Regions from separate parts of the Homo sapiens genome. Here regions 1, 2, 3, 4, 6 and 7 are each linked to region 5. Evidence: promoter capture Hi-C in 16 types of primary human blood cells and fetal thymus (Javierre and others, 2016). All regions are on one chromosome and are shown on one strand. Each heading gives the region's core, a stretch centred on a gene start or on the middle of the fragment in contact. The rest is flanking DNA. Distances are from core to core; before and after follow the strand shown.

The links. Contacts are between HindIII fragments. The CHiCAGO score rates a contact against its expected background, and 5 or more counts as called.
Region 1: a contact is called between a fragment that was not itself captured here and the fragment with the promoter of AKT3 in region 5, in 6 of 17 cell types (non-activated CD4 T cells, fetal thymus, erythroblasts and 3 more). The highest score is 7.1, in non-activated CD4 T cells.
Region 2: a fragment that was not itself captured here is called in contact with the fragment with the promoter of AKT3 in region 5 in 1 of 17 cell types (endothelial precursors); the score reaches 6.5 in endothelial precursors.
Region 3: a contact is called between a fragment that was not itself captured here and the fragment with the promoter of AKT3 in region 5, in 1 of 17 cell types (total B cells). The highest score is 6.8, in total B cells.
Region 4: a fragment that was not itself captured here is called in contact with the fragment with the promoter of AKT3 in region 5 in 1 of 17 cell types (total B cells); the score reaches 6.2 in total B cells.
Region 6: a contact is called between a fragment that was not itself captured here and the fragment with the promoter of AKT3 in region 5, in 2 of 17 cell types (M1 macrophages and monocytes). The highest score is 6.0, in M1 macrophages.
Region 7: a fragment that was not itself captured here is called in contact with the fragment with the promoter of AKT3 in region 5 in 2 of 17 cell types (monocytes and non-activated CD4 T cells); the score reaches 8.2 in monocytes.

What each region holds. Positions count from the first base shown.
Region 1 is chr1:243,350,623-243,353,322 of GRCh38, forward strand. All of the region lies in intron 12 of SDCCAG8 (SHH signaling and ciliogenesis regulator SDCCAG8), which reads left to right. Among named protein-coding and RNA genes, the nearest start is that of MIR4677, 5.8 kb to the left of the region's middle. The HindIII fragment of the contact is 687 bases long and covers 926-1,612 here.
Region 2 is chr1:243,411,582-243,414,281 of GRCh38, forward strand. All of the region lies in intron 13 of SDCCAG8 (SHH signaling and ciliogenesis regulator SDCCAG8), which reads left to right. Among named protein-coding and RNA genes, the nearest start is that of MIR4677, 67 kb to the left of the region's middle. The HindIII fragment of the contact is 4,250 bases long and covers 1-2,700 here.
Region 3 is chr1:244,249,217-244,251,916 of GRCh38, forward strand. All of the region lies in intron 2 of LOC105373262 (a long non-coding RNA gene), which reads right to left. Among named protein-coding and RNA genes, the nearest start is that of SPMIP3, 100 kb to the right of the region's middle. The HindIII fragment of the contact is 4,130 bases long and covers 1-2,700 here.
Region 4 is chr1:244,230,082-244,232,781 of GRCh38, forward strand. LOC105373262 (a long non-coding RNA gene) reads right to left here. Exons shown (of 3, transcript XR_949343.3): 3 at 667-2,194. Among named protein-coding and RNA genes, the nearest start is that of SPMIP3, 120 kb to the right of the region's middle. The HindIII fragment of the contact is 4,760 bases long and covers 1-2,700 here.
Region 5 is chr1:243,848,851-243,851,550 of GRCh38, forward strand. AKT3 (AKT serine/threonine kinase 3) reads right to left here and starts at 1,393. Exons shown (of 14, transcript NM_005465.7): 1 at 1,190-1,393. RefSeq lists an enhancer at 302-802. The HindIII fragment of the contact is 10,171 bases long and covers 1-2,700 here.
Region 6 is chr1:244,278,326-244,281,025 of GRCh38, forward strand. All of the region lies in intron 1 of LOC105373262 (a long non-coding RNA gene), which reads right to left. Among named protein-coding and RNA genes, the nearest start is that of SPMIP3, 73 kb to the right of the region's middle. The HindIII fragment of the contact is 1,766 bases long and covers 371-2,136 here.
Region 7 is chr1:244,308,887-244,311,586 of GRCh38, forward strand. The region is part of intron 1 of LOC105373262 (a long non-coding RNA gene); the gene reads right to left. Among named protein-coding and RNA genes, the nearest start is that of SPMIP3, 42 kb to the right of the region's middle. The HindIII fragment of the contact is 3,025 bases long and covers 1-2,700 here.

The sequences.
Region 1 (2,700 bases), core at 19-2,518, 500 kb before region 5:
AGGATTTGACAAATTATTTCAAGGAAAAAGTTAAACACCTGATTTGAGTCTTCAATATGGACAGAACAAGAACAAAGGGATTTAACTACAGCAACTACAAATCACAATAGCCTGAAACAAGAATTTTCTGACAGTAAGGAGATTGAAATTGCTGCAACAGGCCATGGAACCTTTTCCCTGGAAGTTTTAGTTTTAAATAGTAGCAGCAATATGATTTACCTGAAGACCCAGCTCATGGACCTCTGAGGTCCAGTCTTCTATTTGATTCTGGAAGCGTCCTAGAAAGACATCGTTGTATCTTTTAAAAGTGGGTAACAGCAGTGTTAGTCTTTTCTACTTGAAACCTAGCACTTACAGATTAAAGTAAAATCCTGTTCCGTTCTATTCTCTGCTTTGTGTCTTTAAAGCTGTGTACTCTTTTTCAGAAGGTTTTTGGGGAATATGCTAAGATAATGGATGACTTCTCAAGAGCCAGACTTCAGAAACTTATCCAACTACCACCTGCAGTCTCACTTCTCCCTCTACAAAATGACTGGGAGAGGGGCCATTTGGGCCTGCCTTTGGTACATGTAATCACTCGGTCCTGGTGATGACAGAGTTGCTCTCCAGTATTCTTCACACCCTCTTTCAGTCTGTAGACTTAGCACATTCTTGTCCCTGCTCCCTACGAAGACAACAGCAGTTCCAGAGGGCTTGGCTTACCCAGACCAGTATGCTAGACACTGTGGGGGTAATAACTAGGAGACCCAGGTCCTACCCTTAGGGAGTTTATATTCTAGTTGAGGAGTCAGAGTACACATTAGAACATGCCTTAAGAATACTTGCAAAGCAGCATATCGACAAGTGCAAATTAATGTAGTGTGAACTTCATGCTGGCTACAGCCCATGAGAGGGAGAATCTGGTTCCATGTGTGTGATGCAATAAAGCTTTTTTATAGCATCTTCTCTAAGTATGCCCTAAAGCATTGTTCAGCATACTTAGAGAAATTTGTGTTCTTATCGCAGCCTAACCAAGAATTCTGAGAAAATTCTTCAGCCTAACATATGTCTAATAAATCAGCCTCTTTTGTTCTTGTCCTGGATGATGCTTGAATGGGACAAGTAGGATTTATTGGATTATACAAATAATTTAAAATATGTTCATTTAATAAAAGTCTAAGTTATTGATTGAACTTATTTTTCTAAAATGCTGTGCCAAATTACTTTCTTCATCTAAAATCATCATGTTGGTAAAATCACAAAATTAGCAGTAAAAAAATATAATTCAATTTTTCTGCATAAAGAAGCAGTTCCAAATCAATCCAGTGAATAATACCGAGTTGGAGATCATTGGGGCATTTAGCATTTAGTCACGTTGTTAATGATTTAGGCAGTTGTTTTCTGAGGCAGGGTATGTATACCTCATTCATAGAAACACTGACTTTTCAATTAACATGCTCAAAAAAAGAATCTATTAATTTCTGCTTGTTATTTGATTTTCCAACAAAGATGATAATGCTGTTTAACATAATAATTTATTTTACAAAATCAAATGTATAAGCAGAGACAACACATCTGAAAATAGCAATTTAGGTATATTTAGAAGATAAGAGTACAAATAGGAAATAAAACAAGCTTTCTTAGAAATAATATGCCTTATAGGAGAAACATTAAGAAATAAATATTTGCCTTTGGATGGGAATAGAAAACTGTAAACTGGACTCTAAGAATATTCCTGTGTGCCCTGAAGAAATATAATGTTTGCTATATTTTCAGTTTCAGTGGATGACATGTGTTTTGGTTCTTTGAACATTTTTTTGCATGCTTGTTTTGACTGTAAAAGTTGACTTACCAGCCAACTGCCAACTTGCAAAGTGCCTTCTCAGGTACCAACTCTGCAGTTCTGGTAGCTACCAGGTAGTGACAGTTCTTTAAATGTGTCCATGCAGCCCAACAAGCTGAGAGACATTAGACATAAGACAACTACATATGCTTTCTTTTTGTTTATAGTCCAGAAATATTAGTACCTATATCCAATATAAATATCACTAATTACTACATATGCATACATTTAAAAAAATTTATTGTATAAACATAAGCACATTAACAGAAGCCAGTAGTTCCATCACCCAAACAGTGTAAATTGTTTTTATTTTTCTGTTTTACCTTCCACTTTTTGTACATATGCATCTATAATATTTGCAAATATAAATAGATTCTAGTTTTGGTTTTTGCTTTTTTCATTTAACATTATCTTAAGCATTTTTTCTGTGTTGCTCCTTATTCTTCATAGTGATCACTTTACTGTGGCCATTTACATATACCTGTAAGGGAAAATGATAGTAAGTTAGATTTTGAGAACAGCCACTATGACAGATTTAGAGCCCTTTTGCCCTAAACTTCATATGTTGCTTTAATTCAATAACCATATATTATGTGCACTCTACTTAGCTATAATCAATTTCTGTCAGAAAGGAGTATGTAAACCAGGTATGCCAATAAATATATGTCAAAGAGAACATAGTAGCTATCAGCAAAATGCAAAAGGCATGGGAATTTGGGAGGGGAAAGATAACATCCTTGCAGGGTGGTTAGAATGTTGCCTAGGGCCAGCCGTGGTGGCTCATGCCTGTAATCCCAGCACTTTAAGAGGCTGAGGCAAGCAGATCACTTGAGGTCAGGAGTTCGAGGCCAGCCTGGCCAACGTGGTAAAACCGTGCA
Region 2 (2,700 bases), core at 104-2,603, 440 kb before region 5:
TTGCTCCCTGGTACCCCTCTCCTACTTCCAAATCCTGGCAACGCGGATCTACTTTCTGTCCCTTAGTGTTTACTTTTCTTGAATGGCCTGTGAATGACATCATAATATATGTCTTTGGTGTCTGGCTTTTTAAACTACGTGTACTGCTTTTGAGGTTCAGCCAAGTGCTGTATGTGGCATTGTTCCTTGTTATTTCTACCCTTCCTAGCCATGGTTAGACTATACCACAGTTTATCCATTGAACAGTTGATGCACGTTTAAGTTGTTTCCCGTTTTGAGTGATTGTGAATAAATCTTTCAGCCCCATAACTACCAAGAAATTCTTTTTTACTCAGTGTTTTGAGTGGGAATTAAAGCAAACCAATTGGAGAGACTGGCTTGACCATCCTTCACCAGGCTCTCACACCCAGCTGGATTTGACTCTCATTTTGTTATGCTTTGGTAAATTTTCCCCTTATACCTTTCTTACGAAGTATTTTGCCATCTACTTTCTGTTTGGCCATTTTGAACTCCCTGCTAGGGGCAAGGAGCATGTCTTATCTATCTTTATTTGACCCAGTGCCTAGCAGAGTGCCTTTCACATAAGAGAGTTATGATAAATACTTAATGCATTGATTTACATTCTTCTCTAGTTGCTCCTTGAATGCCTACGTGCTTTTTATAATTTTTTCAATCCATTATCGTATTACCTCTAGAGCAGTGTGTCTGATCTTTTGGCTTCCCTGGGCCACACTGGAAGAAGAATTGTGGGCCACACATAAAAGACATTAATATTAATGATAGCTGATGAGCTAAAAAGGAAAAAACAAAAAGGCCCGTGCATAAATCTCATAATGTTTTAAGGAAGTTTATGAATTTGTGTTGGGCCGCATTCAAAACCATCCAGGCCGCAAGCAGAGTAAGCTGTCCAACTGGCGGCCCAGGACAGCTTTGAATGCAGCCCGATACAAACTGGTAAACTTTCTTAAAACATTATGAGATTTTTTTTGTGTGATTTTCTTTTCTTTTCTTTTCCTTTTTTTTTTCCCAGCTCATCAGCAATCATTAGTATTAGTTTTAGTGTATTTTATGTGTGGACCAAGACGATTCTCCCAGTGTGACCCAGGGAAGCCAAAAGATTGCATACCCCTGCTCTAGAGTATTATAAAATAGGATTCCCCAAATAAAAACATTTTAATCCTACCTCTGCCTTTAAATCATTCACTATGCAACCTATAAGCAGACTTCAAATTCTTTGTGACCCTTGGGGATTTTTAAGTAGGTTTTTTTTTTCCAACTGTAAAGTGAGAGGGTTTGATGAAACACATTTGAGGTTCCCTTTTAGTTCTAACATTCTGGGAATTTATAAAAAGCCTACCAAGTCAGAACCTGCAAGAGAGGAGAGAAGGCAACATAGGAAAGTGGAAGGGGAAAGGAGGTTGGAAAGCAAGACTATGTCATGTTTCTAGGCAATGAAACATAATGTATAGTTTCCCAAATAGAGGGAAATTTGGGGAAGGATTCGAGAAACATCAGTTGATGTGTAACTCAACATTTGTTGGTAGAAGTCTTTTAAATTGTTTTATTTTATAAAAAGGACTTCAATTATGACAGTAGTTCTTTTCTATAGTCAATTTATTTTTTATTTTTATTTATCTATTTTGAGACAGAATCTCACTCTATCACTCAGGCTGGAGTTCAGTGGCACAATCTCTGCTCGCTGCATCCTCTACCTCTCAGGTTGAAGTGATTCTGATGCCTCAGCCTCCCAAGTAGCTGGGATTACAGGCATGCACCACCACGCCCAGCTAATTTGTGTATTTTTAGTAGAGATGGGGTTTTGCCTTGTTGGCCATGCTGATCTCTAACTCCTGGCCTTAAGTGATCTGCCCACCTTGGCCTCCCAAAGTGCTGGGATTACAGATGTGAGCCACCGTGCCTGACCTATAGTCAATTTAGAATATCAGTAATTAGGCAGCTTATTCTAAAGAATGATGGTGAGATTGACAACCCCTTTACATTGGGGAACTGTAAGTACCAGTTTGTGATGGGTAGTTTCAGTTGTGACTGTTATCTTGGTATAATTATTAATAGTGCCCCTTTCACTTTCAGATGGGTATTGGTGTTGGAGAATGCATTTATGTCACCCAATTGTTAGGGGTTGCAGAGCCCCAGATTTCTATCTCTGGCTCCTGCCCCGGCAGGGGGTCTGACTTGGGGATGGTCTGACAGGGCTTTTTGTTTTTTTAGCTGACTCCTTTAGCAGCACGGTCTCCAGCTGGCAGAGCCATTAGAACCATTCTCTTCTAAGCACCTTTTTCTAACACGTCTGAAAAGTTTTTGCCTCCTCTCGTAAGACTTAAGCAGATTCTCCAGCTACACGTTAAGATAGCAGCCTTCCTTTCCCCTATGACAAGAGTATAACAACATCCAATCATGAAATATTCACCACCCACTTCCTGTGTGCCAAGCACTGAGGCTGGGCTGAGGGTATAGAGAGATAAAGATGACAAACGAAGCAGACATGTTAAACAATAACTAAAGTGTGATAAATACTATCTTTGTACGATGTACACAACATATATTGAGGTCATTGAGGGAAGAATAGTTAATTCAGGAGAGAGGAAGGAGAGGGGAAGAATTTTGAGTTAGGCCTGAAGCGGGTAGTTGTATGTATACATCTTACAGGGGGATTGAGTGGGCAGGTGGAGGGGCTTTCCA
Region 3 (2,700 bases), core at 86-2,585, 400 kb after region 5:
GGCAAATCACTAAAGAAGTGTCCAAAGCACACTCAGGAAAAACTGCAGGTGAGGAAACCAATAAACAAACACACCCAACCTCGATCTTCACAGCCCTGCAAAAATTCTCGTGAAACCAAACTGGTTTGACGTTCACAAAGAAGATACACAAAAGACACCTGAGATGGAAGCGCAGCCAACATCCTGTGAATTTCTCCCCAAGACTTGAGCATTTGAGTCATTGGTTGGGAAAGGAGTTTAGGACTAAAGATACAGATTGTAGAATCATTGGCTTTCAGGCAGTTGGGGAAGTTTTGAAGAAGGGAGACTGTGCCGAGTCCAGGGAAGATGGGTAGGACCCTGAATGCTAGTTCCCAAGCATGGCCACGGAACTGGGTTAAGGTAGAGGCATGGAGGAGAAGCTCATTATGTAAAACTGGCTTTTTTTAAAATTATTATTATACTTTAAGTTTTAGGGTACATGTGCACAATATGCAGGTTTGTTACATATGTATACATGTGCCATGTTGGTGTGCTGCACCCATTAACTCATCATTTAACAGGTATATCACCTAATGCTATCCCTCCCCCTCCCCCCACCCCACAACAGCCCCCGGTGTGTGATGTTCCCCTTCCTGTGTCCAAGTGTTCTCATTGTTCAATTCCCACCTATGAGTGAGAACATGCGGTGTTTGGTTTTTTGTCCTTGCGATACTTTGCTGAGAATGATGGTTTCCAGCTTCATCCATGTCCCTACAAAGGACATGAACTCATCATTTTTTATGGCTGCATAGTATTCCATGGTGTATATGTGCCACATTTTCTTAATCCAGTCTATCGTTGTTGGACATTTGGGTTGGTTCCAAGTCTTTGCTATTGTGAATAGTGCCGCAATAAACATACGTGTGCATGTGTCTTTATAGCAGCACGATTTATAATCCTTTGGGTATATACCCAGTAATGGGATGGCTGGCTTTTTTTTTTCTCACCTGCAGCGCATGGCACCCTGCCTTCCAGAGACAAGGTTCCCAACAACTGTGCTGAATGAATGGAGGAAAAATGAACCCAAACCAGGAATACAAATCCTTGTGTGTGAACATAAACCTACTTCCAAAATTCTTGAGGAATCCCTAACTCAAGTCCCCCAAGTCCTGTTTGGTTGTGCACAGAAAGAGATATTACAAGAGGAGCCGTGGGAACCTGAAAAAATGAATGGGGAGTGGCAGTCCCTTCTTATTAATGTGATCAAGACCAATAAATGTATATTGTAATTGTAAATTCTTTCTGGACTCCACATTTCTCCAAAACCTAAGGATGTCTCCAATTATCTCGAGAAAGAAACGTCATAAGATTCTCAAGACTAAAGTAATGTTAATTGATATTCATGCCATGGGAATGGAGAGCGTGCGCTTACTAAGCAGCATCTTGAGGGAAGGCACCATACAAAATCAAACAACCGTTCAGGAATAGTAAATAGCTTCTATTACTGTTGTTTAGGCCACTCAGTCTTGTTATGGCAGCCCTAGTACAAGAATACAATGTACAGCAGTATTAATCATTAGTTGCTGTTGTTGTTTTCAAACAAAAGAGAAGAATAACTTTCTTTTTTGTCGTTTTTTTTGTTTTGTTTTGAGACAGAGTCTCGCTCTGTTTGCCAGGCTGGAGTGCAGTGGCAGGATCTTGGCTCACTGCAACCTCTGCCTCCCTGATTCAAGCAATTCTCCTGCCTCAGCCTCCCAAGTAGCTGGGACTATAGGCGCCTGCCATCGCGCCCAGCTCGTTTTTGTATTTTTAGTAGAGACAGGGCTTCGCCATGTTGGCCAGGCTGGTCTCAAACTCCTGACCTCAGGTGATCCACCTGCCTCGGCCTCCCAAAGTGCTGGGATTACAGGCGTGAGCCACACGCCTGGCCAAGAAGAATAACTTTGAAGTTTAGATATACAATTCAAAATTAGAAAAAATGTTCATGTATGAACTAAAATTTACACTTATGAAACAAAAATATTATACCTCACTATTCACATCCTGTTTTCCTGTTTTAACCTTTAAACACAAAGGAAAACTCCAAGTTGTCAGATAGAACTGGGGTAAATGTTTTGCATAAAGGACCAGACAAGGGTATCCTTTATCTGAAATGTTTTGGACCGGAAGTGTTTTGGATTTTGAATTTTTGGGGATTTTTGGAATATTTGCAATCTATACTGGTTCACCATTCCTAATCTAAAAATCTAAAATTCAAAATGCTCCAATGAGCATTTCTTTTGAGCACCATGTCAGCACTTAAAAAGTTTTGAATTTTGGAGCACTTCAGATTTTGGATTTTCAAATTAGGGGTACTCAACCTGTAATAAATATTTTGGCTTTGCAGGCCATATGATCTCTTGTAAATACTCAATTTTGCTGTTGTAGCAATGTATGAACAAATGGGTATGGCTATGTTCTAATAAAACTTTATTATAGACACTAAATAATAATAATAATAGCTCCTATTGATTAAGTGCTTGCCATGTTCTGAGCAGAGCTAACTGCTTTAACATTTGGTTAAGTGCTGGGCCAAGAGCTCAGAATATGATTAGGAAAATGACACAACCTCTACCTCCTTACTTCCTGTACACTTTCTTGTGTAATCCTCATAACCAACCTATCACTAACCCTATTTTGTAGTTGAGGAGACTAAAGTTATGTAGCCACTCAACATCAGGCATCTAATAAGTGGCAAAA
Region 4 (2,700 bases), core at 146-2,645, 380 kb after region 5:
GTGACCTGGGTAGTTCCAACTCCCAGACTCAGGAGAGACAAGGAACAGGGGGATGGGGCAGGAGGGGGAGGTAGGAAGAGAAGGCGAGGCATGGGCACATTAGCAGGGAGCCAAGCAGGACAAGGGGTCAGAAGAAGGGTGGAGAGAGGATGCAAAGGATAGGTCTGAGGCTGGGGAGTGACATGTGACGTGGAGCTGGACGTGTCATGTGTGATCATGCATCCATCTTTTTTCTTTTAAGAGATGAGGTCTTGCTCTGTTGCCCAGGCTGGAGTGCAGTGCCATGATAACAGCTCACAACAGCTTTGAACTCCTGGGCTCAAGTCATCCTTCTGCCCCAGCCTCCCCACGAGCTGAGATTACAGGTGCACTCCACTATGCTGGACTAATTTTCTTTGTTTGCGGCAGAGATGGAGGTCTCACTATGTTTCCCAGGCTGCTCTCAAACTGCTGGCCTCAAACAATCCTCCTGCCTCAGCCTCCCAACATGCTGGGATTATTAGACACGCATCTGTCCTTTAAATATGCATATTCTCTGTCCTTAAAATAGGGCTGGGAGCAGCTGTGGCAGTGAGAATACCGTCCCACTCATCCACCCACTCACTCCTTCGCTCCCTTAGCAGGCAGTTATCAAATCTTCACTTCATGCAGACAACGTGTTGGGGACAGAATGATGGGCAAAGCAGACAGTCCATAGCCTCCAGAGAGTCCACGGCGGGAGAAAACCCTCCATATAACAGTCCTAGCTGCATAGACGCTCCATCCGGCAGGTGCTAAGAAGGGAAAGGAGAGGGGCTTCCAGCGGGCACGGGCTGGAGAGTCCACCCCCAGTCTCCCCTGCTGCCACCTTTCTTCGGTGACTTCACTGTCCTGAATGGCCAGGCCTCTTCCTCCCTGAGGAGGGAAAAAGAGCAGAAAACCAATGATCTGTGTGATATCTGGACACTGGTGATATCTGGGCCTCAGACCCAGAACAGCTGGGCCAGGCTTCAATGACAGGGGTCCAGGGATATGGCCCAGGAGCCCGGTGAGTTTCTGCCCCGTCCCACCTTCCCCAGGTGGGAATAACAAAAGTAACGCTGCTTCCCTGAGTGCTTCATGGAGTCCTCACAGACGAGGGCTGGTGGATCAGGAGTTACATACTCCATTTCATAGATTAGGAAACTAAGACCAGACAGGGCAAGAAACCTGGCCAAGGTTTCACAATTGCTCAGAGGTGAAGTTGGAAGCTGACTCAACAGCCCAGTGGCCTCCTATCCCCGGGTGCGCTGCCTCCGGACCTGGCTTCCTGGGGCCCTGGCCAGTTTGCTTGGAGGTTTCCCAGACGCCCTGTTCGCCCTCCCAGCCAGCCACAGCCGAGTCCTGGGTGAGCCCATGAGAAGAGGCCCCAGGACCCTCTAAAGCAGGCACTGGGGGAGACCCAAGCAGAGTCAAATGCTGAGCTCTTGGCCGGGGGGCAGGAATCTCCAGCTCCCTCCTCCCTTTTGGCAGCAACAAGTGTGAGGGTTCCCCTCCCCCCGACCCCTATCCATTGTAGCAGGGCGCTGCAGAGCAGCTGGCAAACACAGAACCAAACACCTGTGTGCCAGATATTACAGCTGCATGTGTGAAACGCGATCCGTCTGCAGCGCCTGTCACATGGCGGGTCCAGTTGTTGCACTCGGGGCGGGTTGGAAAAGGAACCATGGGAGAGAACTTTCAGTGGCAGAATTTCAAAGCTCAGGCACCCACCGTCCCCTTCCTCCCACCCCCAGCATTTTATTCGCTCCTCTTTTTTGGCACTCGGCATTTCCGGCTGAGTTTGCCTTTCACTAATTCCCCAGCGGTGACAGTGCTGGGAGTTGAATCCTCCGCAGGGTGACACACACTGCACGACAATAATACAGCTACTTAGCGTGCTCCGAGGGCTCTTCATCTTCAAAGCAGTTGTTTCACGACTTGCTCCAAGGGCTGCACATCTGGCGGAAACGTTTGTGGATCCCGGGTTGGTGGGGTGCCTTCAAAGCTGGGGTGCCTGGAGGACACCCAGAGACATCCTGCAGTTGGGCTTAGCACCTCCTCCCTGGTGAGGTCTCATCCCCGTCGCTGCCAGTGTGTCTATTCCAAAGTCTCGGGCTCTTCACCTGCTTCGCAGAGACATGTTCGTTTTCTGCCAGAATCACTTTCAGGGCTTTGGTTGATGTCACCAATTAGCCTGCATATGGAAAAGGGGGAAAAATAGGACATTTCACAGGTGCTAAAGAGGGTGGGAAGGGGAAGGAGACAAGAAGAAAGGAACCAGTTGTTTCCGGATATTAACTCACAGAAGGTCTTTCCCCAGAAGGTGGCTTTCCCCAGAAGTGGGATAAAAGATTTTCACCCACTACCAGCTAGGAGGCATTTACCATGGTGGAACAGAAAAGAGGAAATAAAATCCAAAATAGAAAAGCATACCTCAAATATATCCACCTGACCTGAATACCACAAACTCCGTGAGACCTCAAATTTCTTGGGGTTTTGGACTAGCCAGGAAATAGGAGATTGTTATTACATGTAAGAGACACCTGTCTATCAAAACCAAGTGCTTTACACAAGTTATCCTGTTTATTCATCAATCAATCAAGTAACATTTATTCAGTCAATCCTCACTACAACCTTTTGTGGTAGTTTCTATTATTACTCCCAATTTACAGGGAAAAAAGTCAAGGTTCAGGAAATTAA
Region 5 (2,700 bases), core at 143-2,642:
CCAGGCTTTCAACCAAAATGCCACATTGGTGAAATGAGTTGGTTTTATTTTCATAACAACATTATTTTGATGGAAGAAATGTGAGCATCCCAGCTTTGACTTGTGGGTAAGCATTTCCTCTGCTTTCAGAACATAAACAGTAAATACCGGTATTGGAAAAACCTGGCCCCAACGAGATTCTTTATCTCTAGGCTAACTGTAGATTCCCGGGAAATCCCAAACAAGGGATGGTGACCCCGCCTCGGCGTCAGGGTCAACACAGCAACCAGCTAGGCTTCAACTTTGGGCTCTGAAGGGCCCCACCGGCATCATGGCTGATGCGGACCGATGCGCCGGAGGAGGTGGACAAGGAAGAGGCTGGTCTGTTTACTTGCAGCCAGAGCTGCCGCCGCCGCCAGCAGCGACAGCATCACTGGATCAGCCAAACCCAGCATCTTCCGCACATTTCTATTCTTAGCACACAACTCCCAAGCGGATCAAAACCCCACTACTATTAAAAACACAGACAAGCACGTTACCCACCTCCCACACACACACCCCCCCCCCCACCCCACCAGTGCCGTCTTTTCCTGCGCGCCAGTGGCGGGGAAGGGTGGGGGAAGGAAGGAGACCCCGGGGACGCCTGTGCATCCTCGCCTTCACCCCACCCCACGCGCAGACAGCCTCAGCGCCAGGGCGCGCGGCAGACGGCTCCCTCCCCCCAACCCAAACACACTGACACCGGCGCTCCACGCGTTATATAACCTCGCCGCCGCCCCCGGTCCAGGCGGGCGCCCCCTCCCCACGCCGCGCGGCCCGGGCGGGGAGGGGCGAGGGGAAGGAGCGAGAGTTGCGCAGACAGCAGGCGCCGGGCCGGGGCAGCCCAGACACAGACGGTACCGCTAGGCCGGGAACACCCCTCCCCCGGCCCGCTGCGCACCGCCGCCCCCCAGCTTTCCCCGGAAAGCGGGGGGTGTCGGTGTCAACCGCGCTGGGCATCCCCCGGCCTCCACACCCACACCCGAAGCCTCCGGTGACCCAGCCCCCGCCCACGCCCCCGGCGCGGTGACAACCCAGAAGCCCCCGCCTCACCCCACCCCGCCGCCATCCCCCGCCTGAGGGAGGCAGGGAGGGCGGACCGGGGCCCGGGGCCCGGAGGGAGTGGAGGCCAGGCGGGGAGGGGGCTAGAGTTGGGGGCGGTGGCTGTTACCTGCAACGGCGGCGGCGGCGGTGGCGGCCCCGCAGCTGCTCGGGCGGCGGCGGAGGATGGAGCCGGGGGGGGGCGGGGGGAGGAGAGGGGGCGACTCGGGGGTCCCCCCTCCCTCCTCCTCCCCTCCTGTCCTCCCCCCACCCCACAGAGCCTCTGGCCTCCTGGAGCCCGGTGCGGCCGGCGGGAGGGCAAGCGAAGGGCTGCAGGGGAGGGAGGGAGGGAGCCGGCCGGGCCGGGCCGCGGAGCTGGAGCGGGAGGCGGCGGCGGCGGCGGCGGCGGCGGGAGGGGGAGGGAGGAGAGAGGGCGGCGGCGGGGAGAGGAGGAGGCGGAGACTCTACATGGGAATCGGATATCGGCTACAAATTCATCACCAGAAAACACCGCTCGGGCGGGGGCCGGGTCACGCCGGCGGGGCGGCGGCTCTGGGCCCCGGGGCGCGCCCGGCGCGGGGAGGGGTTCTGCGGCCTCCTCCCGGGCTGCGCCTCGCTGAGGGGACCCCCCGCCGCCTCCCCGCCCCCTCCTTCCTCCCGCTCGGGGCCGCCGCCGATCGGTTCTCGCCGTCGCCGCGGGGCTTGTTGTTGACTTTGAGGAAAACTCCTGACGTCAGGGGCTGGCTCTCGGCGACTGGCGGGAGCGGCTTCCCCGCGTCCCCGGCCCTGCCCGCCGCCTCTGCTCCCCTCCCTGCCCGGCCCTCGTCCTCAGGCTTCCCCGCGCCCCCAAACCAGCGGTGCCCCGCGCCCCCTCTCCTCTCGCGAGAACATCCCCCTAGCCAGCCAGAGCCGGGAGCGGGGGCAGTCGCTCCCGGGCGGGAAGTTCTGGGTTTCCCCCTCGCCCGCGTGGCCCTTGGCGGGCACCCGAGGCCCGGGAGCGGAGGCTCCTCGCCCAGCCGCTTCCTCGGCGCATCCGCCCACCCGCCCTGGCCGCGGACGCGCGCGCCGCCAGGCCCCGGGCGTCTCCTCCAGTCCGCCGCGGCCCCTTGGGGAGATGGGCCCGGCGCGAGGGCTCGCACCTGGAAGCCCACGAAGTGGGCGGTGCCCAATGAGGTAGGGACCGGAGAGCGCGGAGCAGTCCAGAAGCCGACCCCACCCCCTGCACCTCGGGGAAGAGGGAACCCGGGTCAGCCCGTAGCAAGAATCATTCCTGACTATCCCAGGAGACCACGGCAGACCAAAAACACCTCTCTGAACAGCCTTCCGCACCGCTCGCTGCAAGCATTCGTCCACACACGGTACACAGATTGCGGGCGGATCGTAATTCACTCTTGAAATCACACCCTTTTTAGGGATATTCGTTTTCAATGACTTTGGGAAAGCCACGAGGTACTACATTTACTACGAAGAGACCGTTTCTTTATTTTGAAGTCAGTGACTCCTGAGACTGCATTGGGGACAACTTTTTTGCACAATGACCATATTTTACCATGCAGCGCACTTCAGAAAATTATAAAAGTTTACAAGTTTTATCGCTTCTGGAAACACCTGGGCAGCATCCCTATTATCCCGCCACGTGGC
Region 6 (2,700 bases), core at 4-2,503, 430 kb after region 5:
CACATGGAGGTCTTCTTTTTAAAAGTGTCTGCTCATGTCCTTTGCCCATTTTTTAATGAAGTTGTTTGTTTTTTGCTTGTAAATGTAAGTTCCTTACAGATTCTGGATATTAGACCTCTGCTGAATGCATAGTTTGCAAATATTTGCTTCCATTCTGTAGGCTGTCCATTTACTCTGTTGATAGTTTCTTTCATTATGCAGAAACTCTTTAGTTTAATTATATCCCATTTGTCAATTTTTGTTGTTACTGATATGGCTCGGCTCTGTGTCCTTACCCAAATCTCACCTTGAATTGTAATAATCCCCATGTGTCAAATGGGGATTATTTGGACCAGGTGGAAATAAGTGAATCATGGGTGTGGTTTCCCCAAGCTTTTCTCATGAGAGTCAGTGAGATCTCACAGGATCTGATGGTTTTCTAAGCGTCTGGCATTTCCCCTACTGGCACTCATTCTCTCTCCTGCTGCTCTATGAAGAGGTGCCTTCTGCCATGATTGTAAGTTTCCTGAGGCCTCCCCAGCCCTGTGGAACTATGAGTCAATTAAACCTCTTTTCTTTATATTTAAATTATCTAGTCTCGGGTATTTCTTCATAGCCGCGTGAGAATGAGCTAATACAGTTACAATCGCTTTTGATGTCTTTGTCATGAAATCTTTGCCAAGTTCTATGTCCAGAATGGTATTTCTGAGGTGATCTTCCAAGGTTTTTATAGTTTCAGGTTTTACATTTAAGCCTTTAATCCGTCTTGAGTTGATTTTTGTACATGGTGTGAGGTTGGGGTCTAGTTTCAGTCTTCTGCATATGGCTAGCTAGTTCTCCCAGCACAAGGAGAGTGCTGGGAGAACAAGGAGTCCTTTCCTGATTCCTTGTTTTTTTCAGCTTTGCTGAAGATCGGATGGTTGTAGGTGTGCAGCATTATTTCTATAAATCCCTTTCTAATGAACAATTCTCAGGTTGTTAATAGGTAAATGTAACTCCTGGGCCCAGCCCCTAGGGCTAAGTTGGCTGTTCACATTAAAATGGTGATCCTGGAGTCTGGCAATGTTAACAATTAAACAACTGTGCTCAATCCTATAGTCCCAACCCTTTGGGAGATGGAGGCCAGCCTAGAAAACATAGCGAAGCCTCATCTCTACAGAAATAAAAAAAATAGCTGGGGCTGGGCACGGTGGCTCACGCCTGTAGTCCCAGCACTTTGGGAGGCCGAGGCAGGCAGATCACCTGAGGTTGGGAGTTCGAGACCAGCCTGGCCAACATGGAGAAACCCCATTTCTACTAAAAATACAAAATTAGCTGGGCATGGTGGGGCGTGCCTGTAATCCCAGCTACTTAGGAGGCTGAGGCAGGAGGATTGCTTGAACCTGGGAGGCGGAGGTTGTGGTGAGCAGACATCATGCCATTGCACTCCGACCTGGGCAACAAGAGCGAAACTCCATCTCAAAAATAAATAAATAAATACATAAATAAATAGCTGGGCATGGTGGTATACTCCTCGCTACTCAGGAGGCTGAGATGGAAGGCTTGAATGAGTCCAAGGTAACAGTGGGCTATGATTGCTCCCCTGCCCTCCAGCCTGGGCAACAGAGCAAGACACTGTCTCTAAAACAATAACATCAAAACGAATGGTGCTGTTATTTCTCTTCTTATCCACACATCTCTCATCCTTGGTTTTAAACATTTTTCAATGTCTCGTATTCATATTGTTAGACCTAGTAATTCTCCTGCTATGCTATAATCTCTCCTAAGTGTGAGAATTAACGTAACCGCTGGCATCCGAATTTTTTGCTGAGAAAAAGATGCTATAGTCAATGATTGGGTAGGAAATGAGCCCTACGCTTAAGAGTCTGCTTGTCAAGCGGCCTTGCCACTGCCCAGGATGCGGTCACCGCTCTGCATTACTCAGGAGAAGGACCAGAGAGTGGAGAGTAGAAATGGGAAGGAGGAAGAGGATCACTAAGTGGCACCATCTCTGGACCCCCAAAATCTTCAGCAGTGTCTTCTAAACACAGTACTGCTTCTTGTGAGTGATTTCCTGTTGTGAAATCCAAAGAAGGAGCTCCGTTTTATGGCAGGATCGACATGGTCTAGGAGCAGAAGGCAGCCCTGAGCAGGCCACGCCCCCATCAATTGGCAGAAAGCTTCAGGATGACTGTGGCTTCCACCAGAATTGGAGCTTCTGAGACAATGTCACCTGGAATGTCATGATCTCAACTGACATCTGGGTTTCTCGGAGATTCGCCCAGGATTTGGTGTACAAGGGTGTTTATCACAGAATGACATATAACATTGAACAATTGGAAACCTAAAGGTACAACAGTGATCCGGCTACATGAATTAAGGGTGAGCTAAATGAGGAAATAATATGCAGCCGTTAAAAATTATGTTTTCAAAGAACATTTAATGACTTGGGTAAAACCTTCTGCTATAAGGTCAAGGAAAGACAAAAAATTCAGAATATTACTGTTGGTATTAGTTCTTTTTTTTTTATAAGTGCCCTTTTCTTGACTTAAAAATAAGACTAAAATTTTAACATAGATGACCCCAGAGTTTGTGGGATTATAAGAGTTTGTGACTTTTTTTTTCTTCTCTGTGATTTCCAAATGCTCCATAATGAGTGGAGTAATTTTAAAATCAAGGAAAATAAACATGACTTTTAAAGAGTGGGAGTGCAGTTTGTTTGTGTTCTTTGGTTCACTTGGC
Region 7 (2,700 bases), core at 1-2,500, 460 kb after region 5:
ATGACCCTATTTCAAAATAAGGTCACATTCTGAGGTTTCAGGAGGATGTGAATTTGGGGGGAACACTTTTCAGCCATTACAGGGTTATATCTAAAAATATATTCTGGAGTGTTTAGAGGTGCTGGATCTTATGATTGCAGCTTGCTCTCAAATGGTTCAGAAAATGATAAAAGGGGATTCAAGAGTTCTTTGTGTACTGTTGAAAGACAAAATTACAATAAATTTAGTTTAAAGATCTTAACTGGCTTTTACATATGATTCTAAAATCCAGCTACACCTCATTCCTCATTCTATATAATAGAATGAGTGCTCCAATAAGCAGATGATATGGTTTGGCTGTGTCCCCACCCAAATCTTATCTTGAATTGTAGCTCCCATAATTCCCACGTGTTGTGGGAGGGACCCAGTGGGAGGTAATTGAATCATGGGGGCGAGTTTTCCCATGCTGTTCTCGTGATAGTGAATAAGTCTCATGAGATCTGATGGTTTTATAAAGGGCAGCTCCCCCTGCACACACTCTCTTGCCTGCCACCATGTAAGATGTGCTTTTGTTCCTCCTTTACTTTGCGCCATGATGGTGAGGCCTCCTCAGCCATGTGGAACTGTGAGTCCATTAAACCTCTTTTTCTTTATAAATTACCAAGTCTCAGGTATGTCTTTATTAGCAGTGTGAGAACAGACTAATATAGCAGAGCAGAGGAGGTTGGCTTTATAGACAGAAAAGGGCTAAGGAAAGCAGAAACAGAACAAAAAGTGGATTGGTTGTTTCAAACTTACTTTCCTTGTAAAGATTAAAGTAGGGAGGCTTCCTTGTCATGCCAACTAAAGTGTCTGGGGATTTGGCTATTATCTCTCTCACTCCTGATTTCTCAGAAGGTCAGATGAACAACTTAGTTTCAGCTTGGGGACATGGCACTTCAACATATGGGACTCTGTTTTGGTTTGGTCATTGGGTCTAGTACAGGAGCTCAGTCCAAACCATATGGCCTCCCATAAATTTTATTTAACAGTACTGTTCTTGCAACTTTTCTATACACTTAAAACTATTTCAAGATAGGCTGGGTGTGGTGGCTTATTTCTGTAATCCCAGCACTTTGGGAGGCTGAGGTGCGAGGATTGCTTGAGCCCAGGAGTTTGAGACCAACCTGGACAACATGGTGAAACCTCGTCTCTACAAAAAATACCAAAATATATATATATATATATATATATATATATATATATATATATATATATATTACCCAAGTGTGGTGGCCTATGCCTGTGGTTCCAGCTACTCGGGAAGCTGAGGTGGAAGGATCACCTGAGCCCAGGAGGTTGAGGCTGCAGTGAGCCATGATTGCGCCACTGCACTCCAGCCTGGGTGACACAGAGTGAGACCCTGTCTCAAAAAAACATAAATTATTTCAAAAAAATTATGTAGTTGTTTTTTTTTTTTTGAGATGGAGTCTCGCTCTGTCACCAGGCTAGAGTGCAGTGGCGCAATCTCGGCTCACTGCAACCTCCACTCCCTGGATTCAAGCAATCCTCCTGCCTCAGCCTCCCAAGTAGCTGGGATTACAGGCACCCACCACCATGCCTGGCTAATTTTTGTATTTTTAATAGAGACGGGATTTCACCATTTTGGCCAGGATGATCTCGATCTCTTGACCTCATGATTCGCCCATCTCAGCCTCCCAAAGTGCTGGGATTACAGGCGTGAGCCATCATGCCTGGCCTGTGTAGATTTTTTAAACCTGTTATTGAAATTATTTGAAGGTTTTCATTGGGAAACATTTGGGAGAGAACAAGGCAAGATTTCAAATGTTTGCACATCCACGGGTTCTGCCACTGTCTTGTTGGCAGACAGGGACCTTGTTTTGTCCCTGGGTCCCTGCAGATTGGGGGTGGCCCTCCTCGAATGAGTAGTGAGAGCTCCCAGTCTTTTTATCTAAATGCTTTGTTCTTTGTCATTTCATTGCTCTTCAGGAGACTTGAGTGTTGATTTGGGGTGGATAAGATACCTCTGCAGAGGGAGCTGATCTAGAAATTGGTCGTGACCATGAGAGGCTTTGTTCAAGTCAAATGGAGGATTGGAAGTCTTGTCTATGTCATAGAACCAAGAACCCAGTGCTGAGCTCCCAGGGCTAGGACTGTTGACTCTGGAGAAATCCACATCCATGCATAGTTCTGAGGACTGCCCATTGCCCTGTATGTTGAATGACTTCAGATTTTTTTAAAAATTCAACTTTAGAGTTACATTTAGTCTTATCACTCTTACTCCATCTTTCCTGGTTTTCTTTTCTCTTCTCTTTCTTCCTTCTTCCTTTTTCCCTCTTCCCTCTTCCTCCTCCTCTTCCACTCCTTCTCCTTCTCTTTCTTTCTCCTTCTCCTTCTTTTTGAGACACTGTCTCACTCTGTTGCCCAGGCTGGAGTGCAGTGGCACAAACATGGCTCACTGCAGCCTTGACCTCAAGGGCTCAAGCAATCCTCTCACCTCAGCCTCCCGTGTAGCTAGGACTACAGGTGTGCACCACCATACCTGGCTAATTTTTAATTTTTTGTAGAAACAGGGGCTCACTGTATTGCCCAGGCGGATCTCAAACTAGTGGGCTCAAGCAATCCTCCTGCCTCAGCCTCACAAGGTGCTGGGATTACAGGCATGAGCCACCACGTTCAGCTTTCTTTCCTTTTTATTCCTATCAAATAAAGTAAAATGCA